Regions from separate parts of the Homo sapiens genome. Here regions 1, 2, 3, 4, 6 and 7 are each linked to region 5. The links are contacts of gene promoters, found by promoter capture Hi-C in blood cells and fetal thymus (Javierre and others, 2016). All regions are on one chromosome and are shown on one strand. Each heading gives the region's core, a stretch centred on a gene start or on the middle of the fragment in contact. The rest is flanking DNA. Distances are from core to core; before and after follow the strand shown.

The links. The method cuts DNA at HindIII sites, captures the fragments that hold promoters and counts their contacts. A CHiCAGO score of 5 or more calls a contact.
Region 1: a contact is called between a fragment that was not itself captured here and the fragment with the promoter of BRD7 in region 5, in 15 of 17 cell types (naive CD8 T cells, non-activated CD4 T cells, total CD8 T cells and 12 more). The highest score is 31.9, in naive CD8 T cells.
Region 2: a contact is called between a fragment that was not itself captured here and the fragment with the promoter of BRD7 in region 5, in 8 of 17 cell types (naive CD4 T cells, naive CD8 T cells, activated CD4 T cells and 5 more). The highest score is 17.2, in naive CD4 T cells.
Region 3: a contact is called between a fragment that was not itself captured here and the fragment with the promoter of BRD7 in region 5, in 2 of 17 cell types (naive CD8 T cells and total CD8 T cells). The highest score is 6.7, in naive CD8 T cells.
Region 4: a fragment that was not itself captured here is called in contact with the fragment with the promoter of BRD7 in region 5 in 11 of 17 cell types (naive CD8 T cells, total CD8 T cells, total CD4 T cells and 8 more); the score reaches 21.7 in naive CD8 T cells.
Region 6: a contact is called between a fragment that was not itself captured here and the fragment with the promoter of BRD7 in region 5, in 11 of 17 cell types (total CD4 T cells, naive CD4 T cells, naive CD8 T cells and 8 more). The highest score is 20.0, in total CD4 T cells.
Region 7: a fragment that was not itself captured here is called in contact with the fragment with the promoter of BRD7 in region 5 in 16 of 17 cell types (naive CD8 T cells, neutrophils, total CD4 T cells and 13 more); the score reaches 34.4 in naive CD8 T cells.

Annotation. Positions count from the first base shown.
Region 1 is chr16:50,540,871-50,543,960 of GRCh38, forward strand. No RefSeq gene overlaps it. Among named protein-coding and RNA genes, the nearest start is that of NKD1, 6.0 kb to the right of the region's middle. The HindIII fragment of the contact is 1,439 bases long and covers 572-2,010 here.
Region 2 is chr16:50,596,015-50,599,365 of GRCh38, forward strand. All of the region lies in intron 3 of NKD1 (NKD inhibitor of Wnt signaling pathway 1), which reads left to right. Among named protein-coding and RNA genes, the nearest start is that of NKD1-AS1, 16 kb to the right of the region's middle. RefSeq lists an enhancer at 1,966-2,466. The HindIII fragment of the contact is 7,124 bases long and covers 1-3,351 here.
Region 3 is chr16:50,125,047-50,128,193 of GRCh38, forward strand. No RefSeq gene overlaps it. Among named protein-coding and RNA genes, the nearest start is that of TENT4B, 27 kb to the right of the region's middle. The HindIII fragment of the contact is 7,368 bases long and covers 1-3,147 here.
Region 4 is chr16:50,186,587-50,189,529 of GRCh38, forward strand. The region is part of intron 1 of TENT4B (terminal nucleotidyltransferase 4B); the gene reads left to right. Among named protein-coding and RNA genes, the nearest start is that of TENT4B, 35 kb to the left of the region's middle. The HindIII fragment of the contact is 1,959 bases long and covers 603-2,561 here.
Region 5 is chr16:50,366,925-50,370,242 of GRCh38, forward strand. BRD7 (bromodomain containing 7) reads right to left here and starts at 2,064. Exons shown (of 17, transcript NM_013263.5): 1 at 1,802-2,064; 2 at 1,166-1,374. The coding sequence starts at 1,850. RefSeq lists silencers at 1,453-1,962, 1,993-2,242. The HindIII fragment of the contact is 8,339 bases long and covers 1-2,972 here.
Region 6 is chr16:50,579,320-50,582,411 of GRCh38, forward strand. All of the region lies in intron 3 of NKD1 (NKD inhibitor of Wnt signaling pathway 1), which reads left to right. Among named protein-coding and RNA genes, the nearest start is that of NKD1, 32 kb to the left of the region's middle. The HindIII fragment of the contact is 865 bases long and covers 1,210-2,074 here.
Region 7 is chr16:50,156,785-50,160,003 of GRCh38, forward strand. All of the region lies in intron 1 of TENT4B (terminal nucleotidyltransferase 4B), which reads left to right. Among named protein-coding and RNA genes, the nearest start is that of TENT4B, 5.1 kb to the left of the region's middle. The HindIII fragment of the contact is 5,097 bases long and covers 1-3,219 here.

The DNA.
Region 1 (3,090 bases), core at 41-2,540, 170 kb after region 5:
CAGTTGCTCTGGTTACTACTCTCTCTTTTTTTGAGACAGGGTCTCACTCTGTTGCCCAGGCTTGAGTGCAGTGGTGCAGTCTCAGCTCACTGCAACCTCTGCCTCCTGGGCTCCAGCAATCCTCCCACCTCAGCCTCCCTAGTAGCTTGGAATACAGACATGCATCACCATACCTGGCTACTTTTTAAAATTATTTTTTGTGGAGACAGGATTTTGTCATGTTACCCAGGCTGGCCTCAATCTTCTGGTTGCAAGGGATCAACCCACCTCAGCTTCCCAAAGTGCTGGGATTACAGGCATGAGCCACCATGCCCAGCCACAACTCTCTTCTAGTAACTCCTGTCTTTCTCCAGGAAAGCTGAAGTTTTTGATGAGACCTATAAGGGTCTCATGATCTGTCCCCGTCACCTCCAACCTCATCTTCTCCCCAATACTCCCAAACTGTGGTCTCTCTGCTCCAGAGCCGGGGGCCTCTTTGCTGTTTCCAAAACATTCCTGGCATATCCTTACCTCAGGCCCTTTGCACATGCTGTTCCCTCTGTTTCTTCCTCATTTTCAAGTCTTTGCACAAAGCTTATCCTCTCTGACCTGTCTATCTAAAATCATTAGCTCCTGCCCTGGTATTTTTTCTTTCTCTTTATCACTTGAATTTTTTCTCCCATAGACACACCACATATTTCACTGACTTATGTATTTATTGTCTGTCTTCCTCTATGAGAATATAAACTTCATGAGGATGGCATTTTTGTCTGTTTTGTGGACACAAGAGCCTGATGTAAATTAGGCGCCCAACAAATCTTCACTGAATGACATGATAAATAAAAGAGAAGCACCCACCTTTATTTCTTGGTTGCCTCCTCCCTGACTTTGGCCTCTCCATCTCCTCCCCAGCATGGCTGCTTATGCGAGGCAAGGGCAAGCTATGTAACCTTGGTTGCTTCTGAGAAGGCTTAACTTTCTAGAGCCTCCAACTGTGTGTGGTCTATACACCAGCACCATCAGCCTCACCTGGGAGCTGGTGAGAAATGACTCTCAGGCTCCACTCACACTGCATCTCAACAAGATCCCGGTGAATTCATATGCACATTAAATTCCAGGGAGCCCTCCTCTAGGCTATTTGACCCTAGCTCAAGAAAGGGGGATTAAGAGTCTTACAGGGAGGGATCCAAGGTCAGCATATACAGTTAGTCAGGGACCAGTCTGTCTGTGTCTCTCTCTCCATGGGGTTTACTATCATTGCTTTCCCCTAATGGTTCTTACTCCTGCTTCTTCCTGCTTATTTTTCAGCCCACAGCGACCCCAAGAAGCTGCTCCAACCCCTGGGACTATGGAGCTCTACAGCTGTAGAGACCACCAGGAAGTGGACTGCAGGCCCCTGGCCTCTCCATTCAGATTCTGCAAAGAGATCCTGATGGGTTGGGCCAATGGGTCAGGCATCCAGTCAGCTCTGGCTAAGGGGTGAAGGAGTCAGGTGTTACCAACGTGGTGGCAGGGGCCACCTTGAAGCTGTGTTCTGTGCCATGGAAGAAGGAAGAGGAGGAGGAAGCTAAGCTGGAAGGGAAGGCAGGTGATACAGGAAAATTAACTATGAGCTTTGCTATAGTGACCACTTTTCCTTCACTCCTTGAGCTGTGGCCTTAAGAACTGTGTACCAATGGGAGGCACTTGCATAGTAAGTGTTCATTTGCTGAATACTTACAGAGGGCTATAAGTGGACAAATATGTCCAAAAACACATGAAACACACACCATCAACACTTGCAGATGGTCTCCTTCAGGGAACCTTTCCACACTGGCTCTCCCCTCACTGAGCTTTCCTTCCTATCACCCTCCCAGTCTAGGCTCCTGGAGTCAGTAGTTGGAATCTCAGATGGGAAGAAACCTTAAAAGTCATCTGGTCCAGTATTTTCCAAAGCATGTTCCATGAACTTGTTTTCCAGAAATGGTTTCCTGGTCTGGTGAGTTTAAGAAACCCTGCTTATGACGATGCTCTCCATTTAGAGAATCACAAAGCTTGGCTACTCAATGAAAGCTCTGACAAGTCCTGCAGGAAAAAACTTGTCTTCTTTTGGCTAAGCTAGGGCTGCCCAAAGTTTCTCATGGAGTCCTTTCTTGCACATAATAATAGCATCTCACAAACCAGTGGTCGGGGGAACCCATTACGGGAAATGCTAATCTTCTGGACCCTTCCTTCTATTTTATAGGTGGAGAGGCTGTGTGGTGGTCTGGTTGGCTGCATGTAACTGAAAAACAAAGGCTTAAAAAGATAGGGGCTTCTTTTGCTCTTTTGTTAACAAAGTCTGGGAATAGTCAAAGACTGGTACTGTGACTAGAAAGGCTTCTGATATGGTTTGGCTCTGTGTTCCCACCCAAATCTCACCTTGAGTTGTAATGATCCCCATATGTCAAGGGCAGGATCAGGTGGAGGTAATTGAATCATGAGGGCAGTTAATCCCATGCTGTTCTTGTGATAGTGAGTTCTCACAGGATCTGATGGTTTTATAAGGGGCTTTTCCCCTTTGCTCGGCACCTCTCTCTCCTGCTGCTATGTGAAGAGGGACGTGTTTGCTTCTCCTTCTGTCATGATTGTAAGTTTCCTGAGGCCTCCCCAGCCATGTAGAACTGTGAGTCAATTAAACCTCTTTCCTTTATAAATTGCCCAGTTCCGGTATGTTCTTGTAGCAGCCTGAGAACGGACTAATATAGCTTCTCTGCCCAGTGTGAAGAAGAGCAGAGAGGCAGGGCTGGGAGGAGAACAAGGCACCTGCCAAGGAGATGGGGAGGCTGGGCTGGCTTTCCCTCTCCTCCAGGCTCACCTGGGAAGCCTGTGCTCTAAACTTGCTCAAACATCCTGAACCCAGGAGGAGTTGGTGGTACACAAATTCAATTCAATTCAACCCCACATCCAGACTGTACTCAAGCAGCAGTCTTTTGGCCCAGTCATCTCCAACCTCATCTTCTCCCCTCTACTCCCAAACCATGCTCTCTCTGCTCCAGAGCCAGGGGCCTCTTTGCTGTTTCCAAAACATCCATGGCAGTCTCCACTTCAGGGCCTTTACATGTGCTGTTCCCTCTGCCTTTAGTACCCAAA
Region 2 (3,351 bases), core at 396-2,895, 230 kb after region 5:
ACAGCCTGGCTTGCATGCTCAGCTGGTCTCATGCCATTTCTGGAATCAAAGCGCTGTCTGCATTACACAGCCCCTGGCTTCCTATGCATGTACAGTGAGAGCAGTGAGAAGCAGGCATGGGTGTGGCTGTGGCCTCTTTGTGGCCTGGGTGCACTGTGTGGCTGTGGAAGGGAGCAATGGGGTCTGGGTGGACCAAAGTCTGGAGTCTCCACCTTCCCTCCCAGCTGGAATCAGGAGGCCACCCATTTCACCAGAATGCTGTAGGTCTTGCCACTGCTAGGGCCAAGACCCTTTTAGCAGACTTCTGAGTGTGAGTCTTTCTAGAACCAACTTGGGTGCCCATTTTTGTATGTTTTAGCATTTTTTTTTTCCTTCAAAACACTTTGCTGTAATTTCTGATTGTAGAAGTAATCATGTGTGTTCATGGAAGACCATTGGGTGACCTGGAATCCAGCACCGGGCACCATTTCTGGGAGCATTTTGGTGCCCGTCTCTGCAGACGTGTGCCTCCTACTACAGCGCGTGGAAACACGTGCAGATAATGTTAGGAAATGTAATCACATTTTCTCTGCTGTTTGGCAACTACTTTTTTCTTTCAAGAAAATGCAGGGCGTGTTTTTCTGAGTCAGTAAATACAGAGCTGCATTTGGTGGTTCAACACACGCTGGTCGAGTGCCTCCGCCGTCAGGCGTTGATACATAATGTGTCAGATGGTGGGAATGCCCCAGAGATAAATAAGGGATTGTGGGAGAGGGGGCTGCAGTTTTAAATAAAGAGATTTGGGAAGACCTCACCTAGGTGACAAGGTGATAATGAACCCAAACCTGAAGGAGGGGCAGGAGGGAGGGGTTATCCAGAGGAAGAGTCTTCCGGGTAGAGGGAACAGCGTGTGTGAAGACCCTGAATGGGGAATGAGCTGAACCTGTTGGAGAAACAGCAAGGACGCCTGTGTGGCTGTGGGCGAGCGGGTGAATGGGGAGGAACAGAAGGGGTGAGGGAGGTGATAGGGCAGACAAATTGGGTGGGGCTTTGATGGGCTTTGGTGGGACTTTGGGGAATTGGGTAGGGGTTGGGGTGGCGACGAGGGCAGAGAATAGAAAATGGTTGTCATTATTCAAGAGGACTGTGGCCTGGAATGCGTGGCAGAAGTGGAGGAGGTGGCAATGATTGGTTTCAGGGTGTGTTTTGAGGGAGAGCCAACAGGATGTGCGGAAGCCTCTGGGGTGTCTGGCCAGAGTGAAGGAAGCAGGGAGCTGCCCTGTGTACACAGGGAAGGCACTGGGGAGGACAGGTTTGGGGGCCGCCAGGCGTCCGGTTTGGACACATGAAGTTTGAGGTGCCTGTTGAGCAACTTGGTGACATCAAACAGGAGGGAGAGCCACATCATTTGTTTTAATGGAAAAACCGCTTTGGAAAAAGTTATTATTATTTTTTTCAGTATAAAAGGGTTGAATGTTCTTGGTTTAAAAAGAGAGAATATAAATATAAAATTCAAATCACCCAGAAAATCAGACAGCTGAAGGAGACAGCGCCCCAGTTCCCATTTCTGAAGTGGAGCGTGGCCTTCCAGAAACATTCTGGAAAACGCACCTTTTTGTTTATCAACAGCACAGGAGCGGACTAGGCTGCTCCTCAGCAGCTTCCTATCTGACAGCACTGTGGACCCTGGGCCCTCATTCCCAAATGGCCCCTCTCACCTTCTCGGCTTTTCCACACCCACCTTTGGTGTGATCATCGTGCACTGCTGCGTGGCAGGCGGGTGGGATTGGTGCCCTCATTTTATAGATGTGGCCACTGAGGCTTTCGATCACAGCCCTGGCAGCATGCGAACTGCTGAGTTTCAGAATGAACCGAGTCCTCTGGAAGCCGCCAGTGTGACCCTCTTGATTATGTCCTCATCTGGTGGTTGGGGATGGTGGGAAGTCGAAATCCACAGTGGCTCCGGAGGAGGCAAAAGACTTCACTGGCAGTAGAGGGAGGAGGGCGCTCCGGGTGAAGGGGACAGGATGGTCCAGGGCTGGGAGGCTCCAAGTGGGCGGTCTGGCCTGTGAGAGGGATGGTGACAAGTTTCTTAGAGCTATTTTGGGGACAAGGGGACAGAAGGGGCCAGGAGATGAGAGTGGGAGGCCCAGGGCTGATGGGATCAGAGTGGGTAGGAGCATGGCTTCTGCAAGATGGTTTCTCCAGGGCACTGCAGGGCCGCATGGGTGGACTCTGTGTGTGTGTGTGTGTGTGTGTGTGTGTGTGTGCGCGCACACCTGTGCTCATGGACACTCTTGTCCTGTCCGTAAAATGAGGCCTCAGGGTATAGGAATCAAGAGGCTCTTACTTCATCTGTTTCGTTTAGGTTCAGAAAAGCAAGAAGCTCAAGCCCTTCATTCCTGAGGCTGAGCAAGAAATTCCAGGCTTCTTGGGTCCCCAAGCCCCTTCCCTGGGCAGGAGCACACATCCTTTCCCCACAGTGAGGTGGCCTATGGCTATGGGGCACCCTTCCTTGGGGCCAGATGACAGTGCTGCCTGTCATAAGCAGCCTGGCTCAGGGCCACCCTGTCGGCAGGTCACACGTGCTAGACCCTGGCAGCAGACCGGGGGCCTGTCCCAGGGCCAGGAACTGCTGGCAGATGCCGCCCCAGCTGCTTGGTGATCAGAGGCACGCCACAGGCCCTCGGGCCTCTCCTCTTATCAGCACTCGGCTGTGTGGCGTGGCGGGCCAGTGGCTGGGCTAGTCAGCAGTGTGGCAGGTGGTGGCATGGTGGGGCCAGTGGTGTGGTGGGCAGTGGTGTGGCAGGATCAGTGGTGCGATGTGCAGTGGCATGGTAGAGTCAGTGGTGCAATGTTCAGTGGTGTGGCGGGCAGTGGTGGGGCAGGATCAGTGGTGTGGTGGGGTCAGTGGTGTGGTGGGCAGTGGTGGGGCAGGATCAGTGGTGTGGTGGGGTCAGTGGTGTGGTGGGCAGTGGCTTAGAGAGGTCAGTGGTGGGTGGGAAGGCCGTGTGTGTGTGGTCAGCAGTGGGTGGGAGGGCAGAGACTCCGACAAGCGCTGAGTGCACTCTCTCTGCTCTCTGCAGCCGGCCAGAAGTGGGGTCGCCTGAGGCCTTCTGGGGTGATGAGGCAGTGCTGGGCTGGGCTTTGATCCGCTGTGGCATCCCTGACAAAAACCAGGGCAGAAGAGAGCATGTGAGGGAAGAGAATGAAAGACCAGGGCCCGGAGGGAGAAGGAGGTGACAGCTGTGACTTGGGACACGCTATTTGAGCCAGGCCACTCACCAAGCACTGTACACATACTCTCCATTCCTCTCACAACTGCCCTGCCAGGTGGGGGCTGTCATTTCCACTTTCAGCTGGGGAAACTGA
Region 3 (3,147 bases), core at 140-2,639, 240 kb before region 5:
TGCAAACCAAGCTCCTGTTCCCATGGAGCTTACGTTCTAGTAGGGGAAACAGACAACCAATGAATAGGCAAATAAGTGCATGCTGGGTGCTAAAAATAAGTGCTAAAGCCAAACAGTAAATTTGGGTAAATGGAGCAGATGTAAAGGAGTGTTACTGTAGAAGACAGCAGTCAGGGAAGGCCTCTGGGGCAGCAACATTTGAGCAGAGACCTGAAGGAAATGAGGAAGGCACAGAGATTACTGGGAAAAGAGGCACCAGCCTCCAATGAGCATGTGCACAGGCCCTGCCAAGTGAGCATGCTGGAGGGTTCTGTAACAATGCAGAGACCCATGTGGCTGCAGCACAGTGATCCAGTAGCAGGATGCAAGGCTAGAGAGGAGATGGGGTTGGACCAGATAGGGCCTTGCAGCCGTGTTAAGGATCTGAGTGTGATACAAAGACATTAGGAAACATGGGGCAGAGGAGAAACACTGGCTTTCCATTGCAAAGGATCACTTTGATCCTGGGATAAGAACAGATGGATGAGAGGCATGGCTGGAAGGAGAGAAACCAGTCTTAATCATTTCAGCGAGAAACACTAGTAGTTTGGACCCAAGTGGTGCATTTCCTGGAAAGTAGGCAGCTGTCATCTAAAGGAAGAGCCTGCAGCATCAATGGTAGGTTGGATGTGTGGTGAGAGTGAAGAAAACGTTAAGGGTGATGCCAAGGATTTTGGCCTGAGTCACTTGAAGGATGGGGTCATCATTTATTGAAATGCAGAAGACAGTGAGAGAAATGGGTTCGAACAGAAAAAAAATCTGGAGTTTGATTTGTTTCTTTTTGTATTTTTTCTGGGAGACAAATTGTTACTTACACTTGTTAGCGGATTCTGACTTCCATGCCTACCATCCTGCTTAGAGTTTGATTTTATTATGTGCTGTAAGCAAAGTGACGTTGTCATTCTTTTTTTTTTTTTTTTTTTTTTTTGGAGACAGGGTCTTGCTCTGCTCTGTCATCCACACTGCAGTGCAGTGGTGTGAACACAGCTCACTGAAGCCTCGATTTCCTGGGCTCAAGAGATTCCCCAGCCTTGGCCTCGCAAAATGTTGGGATTACAGGCGGAGGAGGTTCCAAGCGTTGATGTGGATGATTCCAGACCAACAGTTGGAAAGATATGCAGTAGCCTAGACAAGAACTAGGCAAGTAGGGTTGGGGTAGAGGCTTCCAGCATGTCCTGGAGATATAATACGGAAGGTCTGGGGTTTTTTGAATGTAGGAGGATCAGGAAGGTCATACTTGTCTCCTAGGCACAAAGCAGAAGGTGACTGTCAAAACAAAACAGGAACAATAGTAAAACTGGGTTCTAGAAAAGAGCCTTGGAAACTTCTTTTGTGACCAAGTAACTCTTTTTCGAGAAGGCCTGGACTGTGTTTCAAGCTATGTAGGCGCTGCTAAGAGAACATTCTGGAGTACAGTGTTGACATTTAGTAAGGGCCTTTGTCTTTTTATTTCTTTTCTTTTTTTCATGCTATTCTGACAGAAGAGCCTTTGTCCGCCGGATGCGGTGGTTCACACCTGTAATCTCAGCACTTTGGGAGGCCGCGGTGGGCAGATCACGAGGTCAGGAGATCAAGACCATGCTGGCTAACATGGTAAAACCCCATCTCTACTAAAAATACAAAAATTGGCTGGGCGTGGTGGCGTGTGCCTGTAATCCCAGCTACTTGGGAGGCTGAGGCAAGAGAATCACTTGAACTAGGGAGCCGGAGGTTGCAGTGAGCTAAGATTGTGCCACTGCAATCCAGCCTGGCAACAGAGCGAGACTCTGTCTCAAAAAAAAAAAAAAAAAAAAAAGAGCCTTAGTCTTTCAAAACAGAAATTTGCATGGTTGGATTGTTTAATGACAGAAGAGGTAGCAAATGTCAGTGAGCACCTTCTCCTTTATCCATAGACTACATTGCAGGGGTGAGTTAAAAAGAAAGGGTAACATGGGGCCAGGCACGGTGGCTCACACTTGTAATCCCAGCACTTTGGGAGGCTGAGGTCAGAGTTCAAGACCAGCCTGGCCAACATGGTGAAACTCCATCTCTACTAAAAATACAAAAAATTAGCTGGGCGTGGTTGAGGGCACCTGTAATCCCAGCTATATGGGAGGCTGAGGCAGAAGAATGATGTGAACCCAGGAGGCAGAGGTTGCAGTGAGCCGAGATCATTCCACTGCACTCCAGCCTGAGTGACGGAGCGAGACTCCATCTCAAAAAAAAAAAAAAAAAAAAAAAAAAAAAACGTAAAATGCACAGCACTGCTAGGGTGTTGCATCTTGTTTGAGTTTCTGGGCTTTCTCTCCACTAGAGTGGCCGCCCAGAGACCAACACTTGCTTTGCGTACCTCTGGCCAAGGGCGCTACTTCCTCTAGTAACAAGAAAGATGATGGGAGGATGGGAGGAGCTGCCTCCATGGCCTTGTGAAAACCTGAATCTGAAAAATGTCTGAATTTGTTAAAGACCAGTCCAAAAATTTGAGAAAATGAACTCATTCTGGGAGTGGGTTTTTTCCACTCTCATTAGGCTGAGCTACCAATTCTTTTTGGGGGCCTTAGTGCCTGCCATGGTCAAGTTCTATAGAAACACCACTCAACACAGAGTTACCCAGAAAAGGCAAAGCTATCAAGATAGAAAGTAGATTAGTGGCTGCCTAGGGCTCAAGTGGGTAAAGGAGTGACTGCAAATGAACCTTAAAGATCTTTCTGGGGACGGAGGTATTTTAAAGTTGGAATGTGGTGATGATTGCACAGCTCTGTACATTCACTAAAAATTATTGAATTGTACACTTAAGATGGGTGAATGTCACAGTATGTAAATTAAAATAAATCTCTTTTAAAAAATATTTAATCAGCCAGGCGCAGTGACTCATGCCTGTAACCCCAGCACTTGGGGAGGCCAAGGCGGGCTGATCACTTGAGCTCAGGAGTTTGAGACCAGCCTGACTAACATAGTGAAACCCTGTCTGCACCAAAAATACAAAAATTAGCAGGGCGTGGTGGTGTGCCCCTATAGTCCCAGCTACTAGGGAGGCTGAGGTGGGAGGATCACTTGAGCCTGGGAGGCAGAGGTTGCAGTGAGCCAAAATCACACCATTGCACTCCAGCCTAGATGAGGAGAGTGAAA
Region 4 (2,943 bases), core at 332-2,831, 180 kb before region 5:
TTGGTTCCATACCTAGGAGTGGAATTGCTGGATCATATGATAATTCTATGTTTAACTCTTTGAGGGATGGCCAGACTTTTCCACCATAGCTAAATCATTTTACCTTCCCACAAGCAAAGTTCAAGGGCTCCAGTCTCTCCCCATAAGGTCCTTTGCACTTTTTTTTTTGAGACGGAATCTCACTCTGTTGCCCAGGCTGGAGAACAGTGGCACCATCTTGCCTGACCTCAAGTGGCACCTGCCTTGGCCTCCCAAAGTGCTAGGATTGTAGGCGTGGGCCACTGCACTCTGCCAATTTTTTAATTTTTATTTTCATTTATTTTTCTTTTTTTAATTTTTAATTTTTTTATTTTTTGAAGGGATAAGGTCTCACTTTGTTGCCCAGGCTGGTCTTGAACTCCTGGCTTCAAGCAATCCTCCTACCTCGGCTTCTCAGAGTGCTGAGATTATAGGTGTAAGCCCCTGCACATGGCCTTTACTCTCTTGATAGTGTCCTTTGATGCACAAAAGCTTTCAATTTTGATGAAGTTTATTTTTTATCTTGTTACCTGTACATTTGGTGTCATATATCTAAGAGACCATTGCCAAATGCAGTGTCATGAAGCTTTCCCTCAGTGTTTTCTTTCTGCAGTTTTATGATTTTAGCTCCTAAGTTTAGGTCTTTGATCCATTTTGAGTTAATTTTTGTATACAGTTTGAGAGTCACACTTGAGGCTCTGGGCGCAGTGGCTCACGCCTGTAATCCCACTACTTGGGGAGGCCGAGGCGGATGGATCACCTGAGGTCAGGAGTTTGAGACCAGCCTGGCCAACATGCCGAAACCCTGTCTCTACTAAAAATACAAAAATTAGCCAGGCATGGTGATGCATACCTGTGGTCCCAGCTACTTGGGAGGCTGAGGCAGGAGAATTGCTTGAACACAGGAGGCGGAGGTTGCAGTGAGCCGAGATTGTGCCACTGCACTCCAGCCTGGGCGACAGAGCGAGACTCCATCGTGCGGGGTGGGGGGTAAAAGTCAAACTTGAGTCTTTTGCCTGTGGATATCCAGTTTTCCCATCACTATTTGTTGAAAAGACTATCCTTTCTCAACTGTGAATGGTCTTGGTACCCTAGCTGAAGTTATTTTTATTATTATGTTACTTAGGAATGCACATAAGGCCTGGCACGGTGGCTCATGCTTGTAATTGCAGCACTTTGAGAGGTCAAGGTGGGAGGATTCCTTGAGCCGAGGAGTTTGAGACCAGCCTGGGCAATATAGCAGCAAGACCCCATCTCTATATTTTAAAAAAAGAAGAAAAAAAAACCTCTGATGCATAAAATATTTAAACTTGTATGCATTCTTTTCTTTCTTTATTTTTTAAAAATTGAGACAGCAGCTTACTCTGTTGTCCAGGCTGGTCTTGAACTCCTGGGCTCAAGCAGTTCCTCTCACCTTGGCCTGCAGTGCTGAGATGACAGGTGTGAACCACTACACCTGGCCTGCTTACAGATTATAAAAAGAAAATAAGTTTACAAGTTAAAGACAGATAAAATGACAAAATCAGTAAAATTAAAATTACTTTTATGGAGCCGATGATGTTTATTCCAGTTGCTCCTCTCATTGTGAATATGGTATTGTTGCTGTGGCAGATTTGGAGGCCGTGGCAGATTTGGAGGCTTTGGCAATGGCTTCTGTTACCTTGCCATGAGGTAACTCAGTTCCCTCATCACTTTTCTCTGAGAACTATAAAACCTTGGAGGGGTGCCTTCTGCCCTTCGCTTGGCATGTATATTATGCAGGGATCAGGTCTTACTCCGTTCTTGATTGTTAGTACAAATTAGTTAAAATTGTATTGTTTGGCCTTAGCCTGATGGTAAACACAACAGCACACGTGGGCTGTGAAATCTCTGGGCAGCTCTGTGTTTCTAGGGAAGCATCTCGATGATCCAGAACAGGCTTATACTAATGTTTTAGTGTAATTTTGAAATGAAAACACAGCATTTAAAAATTCTTATAGAGAATGTATAGACCTTGAGAAGTGTTAGCAGACCCAGTTTACGACATGTCTCAATATTATGAAACATTGCTTTATTCCCTATCCTGCTTGTACATTTAATTTTTTCATCCAGTTTTAAACAACTTGGGTACTGTGGCCTGTGCCTGTATTCCCAGCTACTAGGGAGGCTGAGGCAGGAGGATTGCTTGAGCACAGGACTTTGAGGGCTGTAGTGAGCTGTGATTGTGCCTGTGAATAGCCATTGTGCTCCAGCCTGGGCAACATAGCAAGACCCTGATACCTTGGGTTTTTAAAAAACAAAACAAGATACATGCTGACATTTCTGGTTTGGCAGGCAGAGCTTGTTCTGCTCCCCACCCTCCCTTTTCCCATAGTAACCATTTATAGGACATCTCACTGTTGTCTACTCTGTGTTGCCTCTGCTTCCCTGCGTGGTAGATCTAGGAATCTTAGGATTTCTTAGTTTTAGCTGGTGATCCGTATCTTTTTCTTAATTCCATTGTAACTTCAGCTTTTCTTATTGCTTGTAGGAAGGCTGTTTCCATTGAATACAAACAAAATAAAAGCTTTTATTCTTAATCTTAGAGATAGGATGTTTGTATTTAAAAATAATTGTGCTGTCAAAATTCTGTCAAGTTGGCTTTTACCACATTAGTTTTTTTTAATGTGGTTTATATGACCCTGGAGTACCTTGTCTTCTCACTGTTAAATTCTCAACTGAGTTGTCCCTATTTAAAGTGTGAGACTGTGCCAGTTTGATTTTAAAATATTGCAAGTGCGTTATGGCAAGATAAAACTGCAAAGAAAGAACCTTCATGTCCCTTTGATTATAAATGCTTTTGGCACTTGTTTCTACTTTTTCCTAATGTTTTTTGAGGAAAGAACCTCCAACTCTCCAGACAGGTCTGGGGGCAAATGACTAAAACATGAACTGAGGCCCTGGGCT
Region 5 (3,318 bases), core at 814-3,313:
CAAATGCATATATGGGTTTTATAATTTAAGGAAGAAAACAAAACATTACTCCTACCTAGCCAAAGGTAATAAAAACTGGGACAAAAGGGAAGGAATAGACTTAAGAAATCCCCAAAATAAGATCTCTAAGACTTGGTGACTTAGCAATGTGTTCAATCACATGGAAGAGAAAGCTCCTCTTGTATATATAAACATAAGAAAAATTACATAACTAACCTATGAAAATTTACCTTCACAATAATTGATGTAATAAGTCGTTCAGTGGCAGGTTAAATTTGGAAAGTTAATAACAGTAATAACAATGTTATTATTATTAGAGACAGAGTCTCGTATTATTGCCCAGGCTGGAGTGCAGTGGTATGATCATACCTCACTGTACCTCAAACTCCTGGGCTCAAGGGATCCTCCCACCTCAGCCTCCTGAATAGCTGGGACACAGGTGCACACCACCAGGCTCTGGAAATTTTTGTAGTTTATTTTGCAGAGGCAGGGCCTTGCTATGTTGCCCAGGCTGGTCTCGAACTTCCAGCCTCAAGCAATCCTCCCACCTCGGCATTCCAAAGTGTTGGGATTACAAGTGTGGGCTACTGGGCCCAGCCATTAATTATTATTTTGCCCAGCTTTCAAACCAAGATGGTAGCTACTCATTCTTTTCTGTTAAATGCAAATGGTTAAGAATATCAATCTCCATTACAGGTTTCTGACCAAATTTTCTCAACACACTACAACACTGTTTTAAAAGATTTAAAGTTGCTCATTACAGATTTGGCATTATAATATTTATTTCAGAACAAACTTTAAACCCCAGTAGATCCCACTCGCTTCTGAAATGACTATTTTTGACAATCCTTGAACACTGAGGCTTTCTTGAGCATGACTTTTTACCCTGCCTAGATGGAAAAACCATTCTTTGAAGCAGCTCCTCAAAATTTGGACTTAGCTGCTTCCTCACCTGATGTGCGAGTACAATTGCCTAAGAGTATAATCCAAAAACGACTTGCTGAAACTCATAGATGATTCATGTCTCTATTCTGTCCTGCTCCTCCTCAAACGAGCCAGATCTTAGAGGCGTTTGTTTTCCCCAGATACAAAGAAAATAAAATGAGGTTGGCACCTGGAAGAGGCAGTGCCGTCCGCAAAGCCAAAGCAATGTAACCACTTGTACCTTAACTCTTCTCCGTTTTCTCCCCTTTTCTTCCCCTGGAATCTGCTTCTCTCCTTTCTTTCTCTTTTTCCGCTTTCTGTCCTTGTGTTTGTCATGATCGTTTTTGTCTTCGAAGAGGCTGGAGTCGTGCCCCGAGCTGCCCGTGGAGAGTTCGGTGACTTCGTTCCCTCCTACTTTGAGGACCAGCTTCAAGGGCTTCTCTACATACTCTTAAAAAAAGAAAAGAAAAGAAAGGAAAGCGCGTCGATTAAAATCGGGGCTCTCCAGGGAGTGCTAAGGATGCAGAGCGCCAAGGCGCAGCAAGCCCGAGGCGGCTTTGGGCGCTCCGCGAAGCACCTGTTGAATGACGGACCCCGGCCCGGGGGTGCGGCGGCGCCGCCCGCCCCGAACGCTCCCAGGCCTCCCGGGCCCGCCTCACGTCTCCCCACCAGAGACCCACCGGACCAGGGGGACCCGGGTTCGAATGCCGCGGCCGCACGGGGGGCAGCGCGGCCTCCGGCAGGACGCGCCCCCTTCGCCGGCCTGGGCCTGCCGTGGGAAGGAAGGGCCCCGGGCCGCCCCGGAGCCACTGGGAAAGAGCGGAAGCCCGGCAGAGCCGCCGAGGGCCCGCCGCCCGCACCCCGGCCCCCTCCTCACCCTCGTAGAGGTGTTTGTCCGACTTGTGCTTCTTGTGCTTCTTGCCCATGTCCGACCGGGCCCCGGTGCCCGCCCCCCGCGCCAGGCCCAGGCCGTGCGGCGCCGCTTCCGGTCCGGGCCAGGCGAGCGGAGGGCGGGAGCGGGGCCCGCGAGACCCCGCGCCGCGAGGCAGGGGGGCGGCGCGCGCCGGGCGGCGCGATGCCCCTCTCGAGAAGACGGCGCGCGAGACCCGGCCGGAGCCCGAGAGCGGCGGCGGGGGGGGCGCGCGGCCGGCGCAGAGGCGGGAAAGAAGGCCCGCCGCGCGCACAGGGTGCCGGCGGCTGCGGGTGGCGGCCCCTGGCGACCGGAGGTGGTGCTGCAGCTCGCGGGCCGGGGGCGGGGCCGAGGGCGGGGCCGGGGCGGGATCCACCGCTCAGACTCTCGTCTTTCTTCCTTCCTCCCTTTCCCCTCAATTTGTCTGTCTTGTCTCTGTCTCTGTGTGTCTCTCCCTCCGTCTCCACTTCCCTCCCTTCTTTTTACTCCCTCCCTCTCTTTCTTTCTCTTTCCCTTCTTCCCTTCCTTCCTCCTTCCTTCCTTTCTTTCTTCCCTCCTTACTGCCTCCCTTCAAGCCTTCCTTCTCTCTTTTCTTCCTCCCTCATCACCCTTCCTTCTCCTCTTCCCGTCTCCTTCCCTCTTTTTTTCTTTTCTTTTTTTCCCCTTCCTCCTTCCCCCACTCTTCCTTTCTTTCCACTTTCCCTTGCTTCTGTTTCTTCCCTTTTACGATATTGACTGAACCCCATACTGGGTGCCAGACCCAGCAAACTCAGCACATTGGTGACTGAAGATTCTAATCTTAAAAAAAACTTATGTGCTGATAGGTGAAGGTTACCAGACGTTTTGACTGTCTTTACTTCTAGCTGTATGGTGCTTTGTCTGTTTTCAGATAAGCTCGTAATTATAGTCTCCTCTTAAGAAAGGATCTGTTATCAGTCATTTATACTTTAGTAACAATTTAGACCCATGAATCACCTCTCCCAGGAAGATTTGTAGCTTTACCTTGAACTTCAGTGGTGAAATTATAGGCTTATATTTTAGGACCCTATTGTTGGCAACTAATAGAAACCAATTTGAATTATTTCAAGTAAATAAAAAGGGATTTATTGGTTTACATGTCTAGAAAGGGCAAGAATAAAGCTTGCCAGAGGGAAGACAGGAACCAAGGATGTAATGCTGTTGACTGGCATGCCAGCTCGCTCTCTCTCTTGTCTCTCTGTATATCGGTCTCCATCTCCCCCCTTCTTTCCTATATGGCTGGAAACATGGCCACCATCTGCTTCTGAGGCCTCTTCTTTATAGTGTCCTGACCAACTGGGAAAAAGATCTCTTCCTGTCAGCTTCACCTGGAAAACAGTCCCAGGGAAGGACTCTGATTGGCTTGGCTTGTGTCACATGTTTTATGGGACAGGGGATGGGAGATTGATTCGGCCTGGATGCCAAATCTACCCCCTCACCCCCTTGGCCAAGAGAAGTGGAGTCTG
Region 6 (3,092 bases), core at 392-2,891, 210 kb after region 5:
ACGCACTCTAACCCACCACGCATGCACTGTCTTACTCCTGCGGGCTACCCGCTACACACGCACTCTAACCAGCCACACATGCACTGTCTTAGTCCTGCGGGCTACCCGCTACACACGCACTCTAACCCGCCACGCATGCACTGTCTTAGTCCTGCGGGCTACCCGCTACACACGCACTCTAACCCGCCACGCATGCACTGTCTTACTCCTGCGGGGTACCCACTACACACGCACTCTAACCCGCCACGCATGCACTGTCTTAGTCCTGCGGGCTACCCGCTACACACGCACTCTAACCCGCCACGCATGCACTGTCTTACTCCTGCGGGGTACCCGCTACACACGCACTCTAACCCGCCACGCATGCACTGTCTTACTCCTGCGGGCTACCCGCTACACACGCACTCTAACCCGCCACGCATGCACTGTCTTACTCCTGCGGGCTACCCGCTACACACGCACTCTAACCCGCCACACATGCACTGTCTTACTCCTGTGGGCTGCCTGCTACACATGCACTCTAACCTGCCATGCATGCACTCTCTTAGTCTCCTGGGCTACCTGCTACACACGCACTCTAACTCGCCACACATGCACTGTTTTGGTCCCACGGACTACCTGCTACACATGCACTCTCTTGGTCCCATGGGTACCTGCTGCACACGCACCCTAACCTGCTACACACATGCACTCTCTCAGTCCCACAGGCTACCAGCTACACACGCACTGTCTTGGTCCCACCGGCTAGTCGCTACACATGCACTCTAACCCACTAAGCATGCACCCCAACCCGCTACACATGCACTCTCTCAGTCCCGTGGACTATGTCTTCCTTTGCTGGCCTCTCCAGGTGGGCTTTCTGTTTTTAGTTTTGATTTGAGAATGAATTCTATTTCTGAAAAGGACCTTAGGGAGTGTTGTCATGACACCATGATGGATCCCCTTGATGGACTGGCCATTCTGGCCTCACACTGTGTGCTCACCCCTTCCCACACATGCCAGGGCCTGCCCAAGGAGAGGCGAGGGCCCAGTGCTTAGAGCGGTGCCTTAGCAAAGGCAAAGTCTGCGTCTTTGGGAGGCCCTCAATGCAACTGGCATAATAGCAGGTACACGCAGGGAATGCAGTACACACGCTCAGTGAATGCAAGAGAAAGCACTCAAGAGAATAAGGGTACTCAAACCCTTGTCAAAGGGTTCCCTGGCCAGAGAAGCTTGGGAAACGGGTGGCAGCACCAGTCGAATGAGCGTTACTCTGTCATTTTTGGCAGAAATTGCAACCTGGTGAGCTGACTCTAGCTCCCAGGAATGTTTTGTTTGACCCTTTCAATTTTTTAAACAATTTGAGCCAACATTTAAAAATGAGGAATTTCACTCAGAACTCCAGATTTCTGACTTCTTTTTAAAAATTGGAAAAGCTAATATCATTGGCATCAACCTCTTAGCCTGGCAATATTCAAGTGGAGCTGAATGTGGCTGTGCTCTTGGACAGGGCCTGTGTCCCCCAGAGCCCCTGCAGTGCCCACCAACCCTGTTTCTCATTTTTCTCTCTGTTTTTTTCATCATTGCCTTTGCACATTGGTTTTCTATAGAACTATATTGCTTTTAAATAAATGTTTCTATTTCTCTCATAGGAAACAATTGCTATCAAAGATGGAAGAGAAAAGATGAACCAAAATGGTTGTTTTCTGAAAAATTAGAGCATATTTCTTCATGGAGATGAAGAGTGTTTCCATATGCCTTTTATGCAAATATTAAACCTGCCCCCATTTAACTTATTTAAATAACTTAGCTCCTTAGCTCCTATGGGATTGGGGCTTGCGGTATCTGCCCTGTACTGATGTATTGCTTACCAGGGACAATATTTCCTAAATATATTATCCCACTGGAGATTCTGGGGAAAAAAAGATTCTTTGCAAAATTAGTGTTGTGAAACAATTGCTGCAACTACCCATTAAATAAGTTCCTTAACTGCAGGAATTCTCAGAGCCTTCACTGTCTTAATGTGCATTGTGAATCTGGAATATGGAGTTTTCGTATTACTCAGGATTCCTTCAGTTTAGGGACCAGTTTCCCAAGCTTCTCTGGCCAGGGAGTCCTTTGGCAAACAGTGCTGCAGGGTTTTGAGTGCTCTCATTCTCTCGGGTGCTTTCTCTTGCATTCACTCAGCATGTCTATTGCATTCCTGCCTGTACCTGCTATTATGTCAGAGGCATCGAGGGCTTCCCAAAGATGCAGACTTTCCCTTTGCTAAGGCTTTGCCTTCTGCCAGCTCCTATTGCTTTGTGGGACCCCTGCCACTTACTCAGAGGCACCTCGGATGGAGAGAACTGGCTAAACAGCAAGTGTCTGCTATCTGTGGTGGATTTGAGGCCCTGAGTACTTTTGGGGCTTCCACAGAGCTGGTGATTTATTTTTCTGATCCAGGATGATGAGGTGCTGTCTTGTAGCAGCTCTCAGTGGCTGTTAGCTTACAGAGGAGTGGGACCTGGGGAGGGCAGAATTGTGTGTGTAGGCATGCGTGCCCTTTATTGCTGTTAGCCTTGATTTGGAAAGGGCAGGGTGGTTCAGGAGGCAGAGAGCATGTTGCTGATTGCTCAGAGCAAAGGATTTTGTGTCCAGGATCTGAGTGTTGCAAGGATTGGTTGTTTGGGGCTGCTGGGGTGGAAGGGATTGCCTTGTTGATCTCTGGAAGCTGTGTGTAGTTCTTGCCCAGTAATGCGTTTGTCTCTTTGCCCAGCCATCGTAAGGCAGCTCATGGACCAGATGCCAGCCTTGATCTGCTGAGCTCTCTGGGATGTTTCTGAGAAGGCCAGAGTGCATTGCCCGCCCAAGGATGTCTCACCTAATTAGTCCATTAGAGTCAGTGGGCCTCAGATCATGAATCTGGAGCTGTTTGCTAATTATGCCTTGAACGTGGTTTTAGTTAGATGATTAAGGACTCTCGCAGGGCTGTCCTCCCTACAGCAGTCCCTCAGGTCTGTGCCTAGAGCCCCAGCCAAAATGAGATTCAAAATGCCCTGAGAGAGAGCTGCCCCCTCCCACATATCCTAAAGTGGACCCTCCCAGGGGAGTCTGGATCTTGCAGGTGCCCA
Region 7 (3,219 bases), core at 203-2,702, 210 kb before region 5:
AGCTGGGACTACAGGCACATGTCACCACACCTGCCTAATTTTTTTATTTTTACTTTTTGTAGAGATGGGGCCTCCATTTGTTGCCTAGGCTGGTCTTCAACCGGCCTCAAGCAGTCCTCCCACCTTGGCCTCACAGAGTGCTGGGATTATAGGCATGAGCCACCATTCTCGCCAGTATCCTTATTTCTTAACTTTAGAAAGTTTTTCTATTTTTAATATAGGTATTTAAAAAAATCTGAATTCAGAGTGCACCTCGATGTTATGCTGTTCTGAGATTAAATATACTAAAACTGTTACCATTGTTTTCTGAATTCTTAAGATGTGACTGATAGTTAGCTAATAGGTTAACACATTGTGGTGGTTCTTGGCCTCTGAACTGATAGTCCAGATGGGGAGAGGAGACCAGAAAGCATGTGAAAATGGACTAGAACCATGGGACAGCTATATAGTCTCTCGCAGCTGTCTTTTGTGTTCTCTGCTTCCACCAAATTGGTTGATTTATTTAGAATGCTGACCTCTTGCATTGCCTAAGTCCTTGATGTTTTTGGTTTCTCCTCTGAACTCTCAAAGGTACTCACTTCATGCTCTTGGTATAGCCCACTTATGTTTAACTTTCCTTTTATTATGTGTTCCCTCTTACACATGACATGGACATTTCTTTAATATGTAGAGTAAGATATTGGATTTCATCCTAAAGTCTTCAAAATAAAACTCTTGAGCTCATCATCTCAGACTTCTTCATGTACCCACAGACCAGGGATTTTGTTTGCTTTTTAAAACATTTTTTTATTTTGTGTTTTATTATTTTTAAATTTTAATTTAATTTTATGGAGACAGGGTCTCGCTCTGTTGCCCAGGCTGGAGTGCAGTGGTGTGATCTCGGCTCACTGCAGCCTTTGCCTGGGCTCAAGCCATCCACATGCCTTGGCCTCCCAGTGTGCTGGGATTACAGGTGTGAGCCACTGTGCCTGGCCTAAATTTATTTTTTTAATTTTTTTTGAGACAGGGTCTTGCTCTGTCGCTCAGGCTGGAGTGCAGTGTCATAATCATGGGTCACAGCAGCCTTGGCCTCCCAGGCTGAAGTGAACTTCCCACCTCAGCCTCCTGAGTAGTTGGGACTACAGGCGAGTGCCACCATGCCTGGCTCATTTTGGTTTTTTTTGTAAAGATGGGGTCTTGTCATGTTGCCCATGAAGGTCTCCAACTCCTGGTCCAAGTGATCCTCCCGCCTCCGCCTAGCAAAATGTTGGGATTACAGGTGTGAGCCACCATGCCTGGCCTTATTTATTTATTTAATTATGAATGAATGAATGAATTAATGAGAGGGAGTCTTGCTCTCTTGCCCAGGCTGGAGTGTGGTGGCACAATCTTGGCCCACTGCAACCTCCGTCTCCCAGGTTCGAGCAATTCTCCTGCCTCAGCCTCCCGAGTAACTGGGATTACAGGCGCCCGCCACCATGCCCAGGTAATTTTTGTATTTTTAGTAGAGATGGGGTCTCACCATGTTGGCCAGACTGGTTTCGAACTTCTGACCTCAAGTGATCTGCCCACCTTGGCTTCCCAAAGTGTCAGGATTACAGGCATGAGCCACCATGCCTGGCCTGGCCTTTTATGTTTTAAGTTGCTTCCACTGATTCTCTTGGGCTTTGCTCCCCTCCAGAACTGGCCATGGTTTAGGATGCTGTCCACCTGCTGCTGCTTGTCCATGAAAACGAGCCATAAACCCTTTTCTTTTGAAAGACTTAATTGTTTATCACTATGGAGAAAGAGGGGATGGCAAGAAGTAGCAAATACAGGGAATTTGCAGAACTTGGTCTTGAGCCCTGGGTCCAGAAACTTCTTCTGGAAGGTGCTTGGTGTTTGTCCAAGCTCATGATAGGTTTCTGTTGGCTGTACTGCCAGATCTGTAGATGCTTTTTTAAGGCTTGGATGACTTGTTCAAAACAATGTTTTGGAGTACAAATTTGGCTGTGGGGACATCAAGACCTTGTTGGGAAACTTGGGTTTAAGGTACAATTTCTTAAACTAGGATGGTGGGAATGGGGATGTGAAGGGAGAATGAATGTGAGAGGTATTACAGGGTAAGGATGGAGATGATTCAGATTCCTTAAGTGGATTTAATAATCACACTGTAGCTTTGAACTTGAGTGACTGGGGAAATATTTGTGGTGTTTTTGGAAATAAGGGCCAGAAGGACTATTGGTTTGGGTAAGAAGATAGTAGGGGGATGTATAGGTGGACCTGCTAGTGGGGAGCTGAGATTTGGAGGGCTGAGATGTAGTGCTCTTCACTGCCGTAGGGCAGTATCCTCTTGTATGTGCCATCCTCTAGTGCCCATTGTTCATCATGTCATAGTAAGCCCAAGATGTTCATGCCTTTTTTCAGCACTGCATTAGGGCTTATATCTGCTTCTCTTTCTCTCTCTCTCTCGCTCTCGCTCCCTCCCTCTCTCTCTCTTTCTGTTTTTTTTTTTTTTTTAGACGGAGTTTCACTTGTGTTGCCCAGGTTGGAGTGCAGTGGCGCGATCTTGGCTCATTGCAACCTCTGACTCCCGGGTTCAAGCAATTCTCCTGCCTCAGCCTCCCAAGTAGCTGGGATTACAGGCATGTGCCACCATGCCTAATTTTGTATCTTTAGTAGAGATGGGGTTTCTCCATGTTGGTCAGGCTGGTGTCAAACTCCCAACATCAGGTGATCTACCTGCCTCGGCCGCCCAAAGTGCTGGGATTACAGGCATGAGCCACCGCGCCCGGCCTCTCTCTGCTTATTTCTACACAGTGTTACCAATGAGATTGGTGTTACTGCTGGGCTCCAAAGCAATCAGACAGATTAAAGTAGATTGAATATGAAAGAATTTAGAGGCCTTTTTCCAAGTGATTTGTGCTCTATTTAATTTCTGTGCATTTGCAGATATAGCCCACAGTAATTCTTAGTGAACTAGAACCTTCAGGTTATTGAATTTTACTGATTTGGGTACTGACATGCGCTTTTAAGAAGACATTAGGTTTTCTATAGTGTAGATTGTACACTAACAATATAATTCATATTTAAGAATGTCTCAAAATTTAGTATACTGTGTTCAACTAACTTAACTTTCTTTGTTTTTTTTGTTTTGTTTTGTTTTTGTTTTTTGAGACGGAGTCTTGCTATGCCACCCAGGCTGGAGTGCAGTGGCGTGATCTTGGCTTACTGCAACTTCAACACTCCTGGGTTCAAGTG